Regions from separate parts of the Homo sapiens genome. Here region 2 is linked to region 1. The links are contacts of gene promoters, found by promoter capture Hi-C in blood cells and fetal thymus (Javierre and others, 2016). All regions are on one chromosome and are shown on one strand. Each heading gives the region's core, a stretch centred on a gene start or on the middle of the fragment in contact. The rest is flanking DNA. Distances are from core to core; before and after follow the strand shown.

What was found. Contacts are between HindIII fragments. The CHiCAGO score rates a contact against its expected background, and 5 or more counts as called.
Region 2: a contact is called between a fragment that was not itself captured here and the fragment with the promoter of DNAJA2 in region 1, in 1 of 17 cell types (naive CD8 T cells). The highest score is 5.2, in naive CD8 T cells.

Annotation. Positions count from the first base shown.
Region 1 is chr16:46,971,046-46,975,342 of GRCh38, reverse strand. It overlaps DNAJA2 (DnaJ heat shock protein family (Hsp40) member A2), which reads left to right and starts at 1,669. Exons shown (of 9, transcript NM_005880.4): 1 at 1,669-1,848; 2 at 3,388-3,447; 3 at 3,771-3,994. The coding sequence starts at 1,771. It overlaps DNAJA2-DT (DNAJA2 divergent transcript), which reads right to left and starts at 1,571. Exons shown (of 2, transcript NR_186372.1): 1 at 1,218-1,571. RefSeq lists enhancers at 1,258-1,347, 1,408-1,477 and silencers at 1,908-1,957, 1,988-2,067, 2,218-2,267, 2,298-2,367, 2,718-2,797. The HindIII fragment of the contact is 5,496 bases long and covers 1-3,017 here.
Region 2 is chr16:48,227,639-48,232,028 of GRCh38, reverse strand. ABCC11 (ATP binding cassette subfamily C member 11) reads left to right here. Exons shown (of 30, transcript NM_001370497.1): 2 at 90-206; 3 at 1,456-1,592; 4 at 4,065-4,223. The coding sequence starts at 108. Among named protein-coding and RNA genes, the nearest start is that of LONP2, 14 kb to the left of the region's middle. The HindIII fragment of the contact is 4,111 bases long and covers 40-4,150 here.

The DNA.
Region 1 (4,297 bases), core at 420-2,919:
AGAGGCAGTGGCTCAGGCCTGCAATCCCAGCACTTTGGGAGGCCAAGGTGGGTGGATGATTTGAGATCAGGAGTTCGAGACCAGCCTGGTCAACATGGTGAAGCTCCACCTCTACTAAAAATACAAAAATTAGCCGGGCATGGTGGTGGGCGCCTGTAATCCCAGCTACTCGAGAGGCTGAGGTGGGAGAATCACTTGAAGCCGGGAGGTGGAGGTTGCAGCGAGCTGAGATGGCGCCACTGCACTCCAGCCTGAGCGACATAACGAGACGCTGTTTCAAGTAAAAAAAAAAAAAAAAAAAAAAAAACAAAAGAGTTCGAGATCCTACCACAAAAGGTACAAACGAAGGGTGGTGGGAACTCGAATGAGATAGCAGTGTTCACCAGTGCCCAGTAAAGGAAGACTTCACAGAGGGAGCAGGATTTCAGATGGGATTTGAGGAAAAGGGTTTAAGGACTATTAATGACTTATCACTGATTACTCTTAGGGTTTTCAAGCTAAATTTCAGAGTCCTTGTCATGGAATTCAGGCCCTCCACAACTAGGTCAAAGGGAACGCCAAGGAAGAAACATTATCCTGAGTGAGATGCTTATGCTGAAGTCTTTGCTATCAGTTCAGGTTCCAAGGGATCAGAAAACCTTACTTTTCTGTCTCCATAAACCGTAAATGGGTTGAAGGCAGGCACTTTTGTAACACTCCTCTCCCCGGACCAGGCCTCTGTACATCATAGCACTTGGTAGATGCACAGCATACTTTCTGAGCGAAACTAAAACGAATGTAAATCAAGTCACCTGGTGGCCAGACTTGCCTTACACCATCTAAACCTCTGGTGTTAGCTAATTTTAAAGCTATCAAGTAAGAGGCTTAAACACGTGGTCCAGATGCAACATGTGGACCTTGGTTTGGACCCGGATGCCACAAACCAATTGTAAAAGGACATGAGATCATCTGAAAAACCTAAATATGGACTGGGAATTAGATTAAGGAATTGTTAATTTCATTAGATGAGATTACATCGTTATGCCTTTAAAAGTTGTCTCTTAGATATTAAATATATACACTTAGGGTATTTATGAATGAAACGGTTTCCCTTAAAACACTAGAAATGTATGGTGGAGCCAATGAAACAGGTAAAAGGTAGCTAACTGCACTATGGGGAGTAATATACTGCTTCTGCTAAATGTTTCAGAATTCTCATAATATAAAACACAACATACACACACACGCGCCCCCCAGTTTTTTTCATCGTAAGCCCCGAGGGAGCCAGACCCAGAGGGTCCACCGACGTCCCGGATTCTAATAACGACATCTGCGCGCCAGGCGGGCCTCCTGCGGGAGCCGGGGCCCATTTTCTTTCGAAGCTAACGAAGCTGCTGCGCAGGCCTGTTAATTCCCTCAGCAGCCAGTGCGAGGTTAAACACGCGACCTCGCAACCATGGCTTTTGAGAGGAAGCTGAATTCCTGGGGTGCGCCGTGCACAGTTCTTCATTTCCTACGTTGGCCCTGCCCAGCCGCCTGGACCTGGAGGAAAACAGAGAACCTGGCCCACTCTTCAATACTTCGACCCCAGTGGCCGCGCCTCGGGCGCTCGGGGGCGGGCTCTGCACAGCGACGTCACGGCGCACCGTGCGCTGGGTCAAAGTTCAGCCCCGCCCCCGCTTCCCCCTCGCTGTCTCCCTCGGCCTGTGCCGCCGCCGACGCCGCTTGTGGGCCCGACTCCGCTCTGTCTGCTTCGCCACCTTCTCCCCGAGCACTGCCCGGCCGGCCGCCATGGCTAACGTGGCTGACACGAAGCTGTACGACATCCTGGGCGTCCCGCCCGGCGCCAGCGAGAACGAGCTGAAGAAGGTATCTGGGAGCGGGCCGGGCGGGTGTGAGGGGCGCGGGGCCTGCGCGGCCAGGGATGTCTTCTTCAGCCAGGCCGCGCTACTGGGCTGCCCGCGAGCCGGCGCCGGCCGTGACTGGCCCGGGCTGGGAGTCGGCGGCGGCGGCGGGACCGGCCTCGCCGCGAGCCGCGCACTCCGGCCTCGGCTGACCTTGGGGCCGCCGGCCCCGCCCGCCCGCAGATGCAGCAAATAAAACTCACTCCTGCGCAAACACGATGGGAGCCCTTCCTTCCTCCCTCCTTGAACGAGCGCCGGGGGCTGGTATCCCCCGGGAGGCAGCAGCTCGCCCGGTCCTTCGCGTCGAGGTCACCACCCCGGAAAAACAGGTTGGACCGAGGTGCTCAGCGCATCCCGGCCCCGAGAGAGAAGCTGTCCGCCCCGCGGCCGTCGGCCCCGGGTCTGGTGCTCCGCGGGGAGGAACGGCGGGGAGGTCGAGGCCGCCCCCACAGAGCGCCTCGGGCGGATGGGGTTGTTTCCTGGGTTCCGCGGCCGCCGGCTGCGGGAGCTCCTCCCTCTCTGCGTCCCTCGCCCATTGACCCGGAGGTAGCTGGGTCTGTGTTTGGATGCATTGTTCTTTGGGCAGGTAATGCTAATGTCCTGTACCTGCTTAGGAATAAGCCGTGGTCCCAGCCAAACGCCTGAGTGTACAGTAAACATAAATAGAAGGCCTTATTATTGCTATTTGCAATGCTGCGATATCTTTCATCTCAGGATTTCAAAGCACACGAGGCATTTAAGCCCCACAGCATCCTCACCAGGCTAAGAGCATCCAGATTTGTAAGCCGAGAAAAATGAGAATGCTCCTTAGGCAGTGAGAAGAGTACAGTGGACTTCCTGTTACCTTACCGGAAATGCTAGTCTGTATTATATAATTCACGAGCCTCCGTGAATGAAGATTTAAGTGCTTTAGGACCCAAACACCTCGTTGAGAGTGTGTGCAACTTCTCTACCACCGAAGTTGCCACCACGACCCCAGTTAACCACCACGTGCAAATAAAACACCAAAAGACGCTAACTAGGACCACCTTTACTTTTTCATGATGTTACAGTTAGAAGGAAGGCGTGAGCCATCGGGAGCAGGAATTGTGACTTTAGCTTGATTTATAGTAATGTTTTGCAGTCCGCAAAGCTTAACAGTCATTTATCTCGAATTTATTAGGGTCGTCTTGGTCTGGTTACTTGGCCATCAAAGACACTTGACAATAGGGAAAATATGGATAATGTTTGAACGTTTTGTTTTTCCCTGTGGCATTGCTTCATTGTTTTATCTGGTTTTCACGTCACTGTAACCTGTTTTCAAGTATAGCTGCTGTCTACTTGGTTATATTACATTAGTAAACAGTATCGCGAGAAAGTGCCGAAGAATCCCTACGAATAGAAAATATTTTTGAAAGGTTATAACTCTAGAACATTACTTCTCAGAAAAGTGGATATTAAGTTATTACAAAACTTTTAACTGGTGTTTAGTTATAACCTTTTTTGTTTTTATCCATTTTCAAAGGCATACAGAAAGTTAGCCAAGGAATATCATCCTGATAAGAATCCAAATGCAGGAGACAAAGTAAGTTATTTGCACCTTTTTTATTCCGGGGGTTTTAGCTTTAACTTAAATTGCCCTCCTTGAAAAAGAGGAATGTTGCAGGAAAAAAATCCAACTATGCCCACACAGCCACATTTTCATAATGTCAAGAGTATTTTAGTTTTAGAATAAGAGTACTACCATTCTGAGGAGCGGTGGGTGGTAAATAGAACCAGAATCAAGTCAAAGGTAACTTGTCCCTTTTTTTTTTTTTTTAGAATTAAATGGATTCTGGATTCCTGTAGCTTCTCCCCACTCTTCTACTTGAAAATGCAATTATTTTTATTTTTACCTTTTCTTTATAGTTTAAAGAAATAAGTTTTGCATATGAAGTACTATCAAATCCTGAGAAGCGTGAGTTATATGACAGATACGGAGAGCAAGGTCTTCGGGAAGGCAGCGGCGGAGGTGGTGGCATGGATGATATTTTCTCTCACATTTTTGGTGGGGGATTGTTCGGCTTCATGGGCAATCAGAGTAGAAGTCGAAATGGCAGAAGAAGAGGAGAGGACATGATGCATCCACTCAAGTGAATATCTTGTTTTGTTGTTTTAAAAAATTAAGTACTTTTTGTCAAGTGGGATAATGACTCAGTAGATGAAAAATCTCATAGAGTGTTCTGTCCTTCATTAGAAAAACTTCCATTTGCCTTGTCTTCTTTTGGTGACTAAATTGAATTTGATTATCTGAATGTTTCTATTTCGCTGTAGCTCTTAAAAGGACAGTCGATATTTTTTAATGAGAGGAAGGTGGTTTTATATGGTTCTGAGGCTGCTTGTTATTATAGGACTTAAAATTTCAACTGTGAAGATCATTTTCTCTCTCTCTCTTT
Region 2 (4,390 bases), core at 846-3,345, 1.3 Mb before region 1:
GTGCCCCCTCTTCTGGCTGCTCAAGGCGAGATCTAAGCTTCTTCTAACTCCTGCTGTCTTTTCATATTCTCTGATTCTGGGAAACGAAGAATTGGCAGGAACTGAAAATGACTAGGAAGAGGACATACTGGGTGCCCAACTCTTCTGGTGGCCTCGTGAATCGTGGCATCGACATAGGCGATGACATGGTTTCAGGACTTATTTATGTAAGTAGATCTCTTAGCATCAGCACACCAGGAAACTGAGTTGGCAGAATATTCTCCACGGTCATAAATTACGTCAAACAATTTCTTCCCATACTTATTTACCCTTGAATTTTTTTTCTTTTCTCTTTTTGCTCTCTCTCTCTCTCTTTTTTTTTTTTTTTTGACTCAGGGTCTTGCTTTGTCACCCAGGCTAGAGTACAGTGGCACAATCATAGCTCACTGACACCTCCTGGGTTCAAATGATCCTCCCACCTCAGCCTCCTGAGTAGCTAGCTGGGACTATAGGCACATACCACTACGCCCAGCTAATTTTTAAATTTTTCACAGAAATGGGGGTCTCCCTATGTTGCCCAGGCTTGTCATGAACTCCTGGCCTCCATCCTCCTGTCTTGGCCTCCCAAAGCACTGGGATTACAAGCATGAGCCACCCCACCCAGCTACTCTTGATTTTTTTCAAATAGACCTCAGGCTTCCACAATGAGATCAATTATAATCCATCATCATGGCATACCTTCATGGTTTATGCATATCTCTATGCATAATATTATATAGAGATTAGATTGTATCTATCTCTCTATCACCTATTACCTATTTATCTATGCATTTACTCATATTAATAATAATAATAATAAGCATCTGCAAACCCATCACCAATACATCAGCTTGGACCTTGGCAATCACACGCAGCAATTGGTCTTCCCCCATGTCATTCCCCAACCCTTCCTACCTGATGTAACCACTATTCTGAATCTCTTTCTGTCAATCCTTGCTGTGCTTTTAAAAAGTATTATTTTATATAGAATATATTATTTATTCTATATGAAGTCCTAAAAATTACCTGTCCTTTTATTTTAGTTGTCAAAAGGGAAACATATAATATTTTAGGATTTGCTTTTTTACTTGTTGGTTTCTTTTTAGTAGATTTACCCTCAAAGAGTGACTTGGTCCCTCATTCTGCAGGTAACTAACTATGGCACCCTTTATTCCTGTCTAAATTGTTTACTGTCAGATAAAAATCCAAAGAGGTAGAGTGACTGGGCCAGACTCACTCAGCAAATGTGGGTCAGAGCGAGTGCTGGGATCCAGTTGCCCTGACTCTCGGTCCCCTGCTTATTCTCGGTATGGAAGCCTTTCTTTAGGAAGCAGGATATGGAAAAATCCATTTCTCCATGGGCAGCTGGTCCAACATTCCCTCAGGACAGAATTTACGAGATTTGAAACTGATGCTCTTTTGTTTTTCTTTTCCAAGAAAACCTATACTCTCCAAGATGGCCCCTGGAGTCAGCAAGAGAGAAATCCTGAGGCTCCAGGGAGGGCAGCTGTCCCACCGTGGGGGAAGTATGATGCTGCCTTGAGAACCATGATTCCCTTCCGTCCCAAGCCGAGGTGAGTCCTGATGGGGGTGGTGGGAGAGAGCTGTATCCACCAGGGCAATGATCCCCAACCCTCCCAACTAGACCTCTCACGAAGGTTGCATAACTACATCCCTACACAGCCAAATCCCTTCAGAGCAGCCTGAGGCACACCAGGGAGGCACATCGTCATAGCCATTCATTCATTATTTATTCATACAGAAAGGATCATTGAGCACCTACATGTGCCAGGCACTGTGCTACATCACAGGGGAAGAACAGTGAGCAAACAGACGTGATCTTTGCCATCATGGACCTCACATGGGAGAGAAAGACAATAAGCAAATAAACTTGTGCATGACATGATTACAAGCTGTTTGAGGAAGGTGCTGTGAAGAAGTATGCGAGTGTTGAGGGACCGGAGAACCATGACAACTTGGTAGGTTCTGAGTGGCTTAAGCTGAGTGACACCTAGAGGGAGAACAAGAATTTCCTAAGCAAGAGTAGGAGAAGAATGATCAAGGAACAGCCTGTGGGACAGCCTTGCCTGGAGGGGCAAGGAACACAGCATGATGTGTCCAGGAACTGAGAAAGAAGGAGGCCAGTGTCACTGGAGAGTCTTGTGTGATGTGGGTGTGGCATGAGGTGAGGCTGCAGAGGCAAGCGGATCAGACAGGTTCTCAAAGGCCACATTAAAGTTACCAGCCGGCCGGGCGCGGTGGCTCACGCCTGTAATCCCAGCACTTTGGGAGGCCGAGGCGGGTGGATCATGAGGTCAGGAGATCGAGACCATCCTGGCTAACAAGGTGAAACCCCGTCTCTACTAAAAATACAAAAAATTAGCCGGGTGCGGTGGCAGGCGCCTGTAGTCCCAGCTACTCAGGAGGCTGAGGCAGGAGAATGGTGTGAACCCGGGAAGCGGAGCTTGCAGTGAGCCGAGATTGCGCCACTGCAGTCCGCAGTCCGGGCTGGGTGACAGAGCGAGCCTCCGTCTCAAAAAAAAAAAAAAAAAAAAAAGTTACCAGCCTTGGTTATGGGAGTAACCAAGTTGATTTCCAACATGTTTTCTAAGATTTTTATCTATCAACAAACTGCATTTGTTTGCCCATTTTTAAAATCTGAGCTTCTGTCAATACTAGTTACATTGTTACCATATTGAATTATGTTATCTCCACCAAGAACAAAGAACCTTGGTACTTTCATTCACCTGGGTAACCTCATCTTAGATAAATATATTGTTTCTGTTGGGGCTTTAAGATATTAGCACTGGCTCATAGGTCTTGCCCTGTCTTTTGTGATCACAAATGGTACAATCTCTTGCCCTCCCCTCACCCGCTCCTTGCTCCAATATCCCTGGCAATGGCATGTGGCCAGCCTTGTTGAGAATGCTGTGAGGATATGAAAGGGTAGAGAAAAGACGTCATAGTCCCTCTCCCCTACCCCCCAAAAGAAATCTTATAAGTTCGGCATTTTCATCTTCCCATCTTTCTCCTCAAGTCTCTTTTCGAATTGCATTTTCTTCCCATTGAAACACATAAACTTAAAGGCAATTTTGAAAAAAAAAAAAGTGGAAAAATGACACATAATCCCAATACCCTAATTTAGTCATTTTTGGTATTTGTAAATCATTCTTAAAGGTAATACCTTATCATCTTTAATTATTTATGTATTCAATTTTATTGTTTGTAAAAGTTTCACAGAAGAATTAAAGCCTTGAGGACCTCTCTTCCTATTTCTTTGTCAACTCCAACTCCTTTTTCAATGTCAACCACTATCAGCAATGTGATATAAATGTACATACTGTTTTGTCTGCTTTCTCTCCTTTCTTCCTTTTTTATATAAGTGAAAAAAATACTGAGTTTTTTTTTTCTTTTGAGACGGAGTCGTGCGCTGTCTCCCAGGCTGGAGTGGTAGTGGCGTGATCTCGGCTCACTGCAACCTGTGCCTCCCGGGTTCAAGCGATTCTCACGCCTCAGCCTCCCGAGTAGCTGGGATTACAGGCGTGCACACCACCACACCAAGCTAATTTTTGTATTTTTAGTAGATACAGGGTTTCACAATGTTGGCCCGGCTGGTCTCGAACTCCTGACCTCAGGTGATCCACCCTCCTCGGCCTCCCAAAGTGCTGGGATTATAGGCATGAGCCACTGGGCCCAGCCAATACTGAGTTTTTAATCTGCAAGTGGCTTTTTTTTGGCTTTTGCTTGGAACTCTTCCTGTGTTTTACATATAAACAAACCTTATTGAAAAAAAAAAAACCCCAAACATCTACATTGCATTTGCATTTTATAGTATGGGTAGATCATAATTTCTCTCTTTTTGTTTAAATAATTCCTCAATTAATGGGCACTTTTGTTGTTTATGATTTTCAACTTACAAATAAGAGTCATGAAAACATGTTTGTGTGTAGATCTGGGTAACCTCGTTGTGTTTTAATATGGTTGTCATTCATCCTTGCAAAATCTTGATCCTGAATTCATTCTTATCCTTGTGGCCCCTCTACTAGGTTTCCTGCCCCCCAGCCCCTGGACAATGCTGGCCTGTTCTCCTACCTCACCGTGTCATGGCTCACCCCGCTCATGATCCAAAGCTTACGGAGTCGCTTAGATGAGAACACCATCCCTCCACTGTCAGTCCATGATGCCTCAGACAAAAATGTCCAAAGGTGAAGCTGCGCTGGGCAAACCAGTGGATAGGTTAAAAGACAATCTCTTGGTGGGATAATGACCAGAGATGCCTAAGGGTGGTAGGGAGGGGCCATGCCAGACGACTTGGCTCTTCCTGTAGGAAGAGGCCTCATACTAGGTGAGGGTTTTTAACGTGGGGTTCATG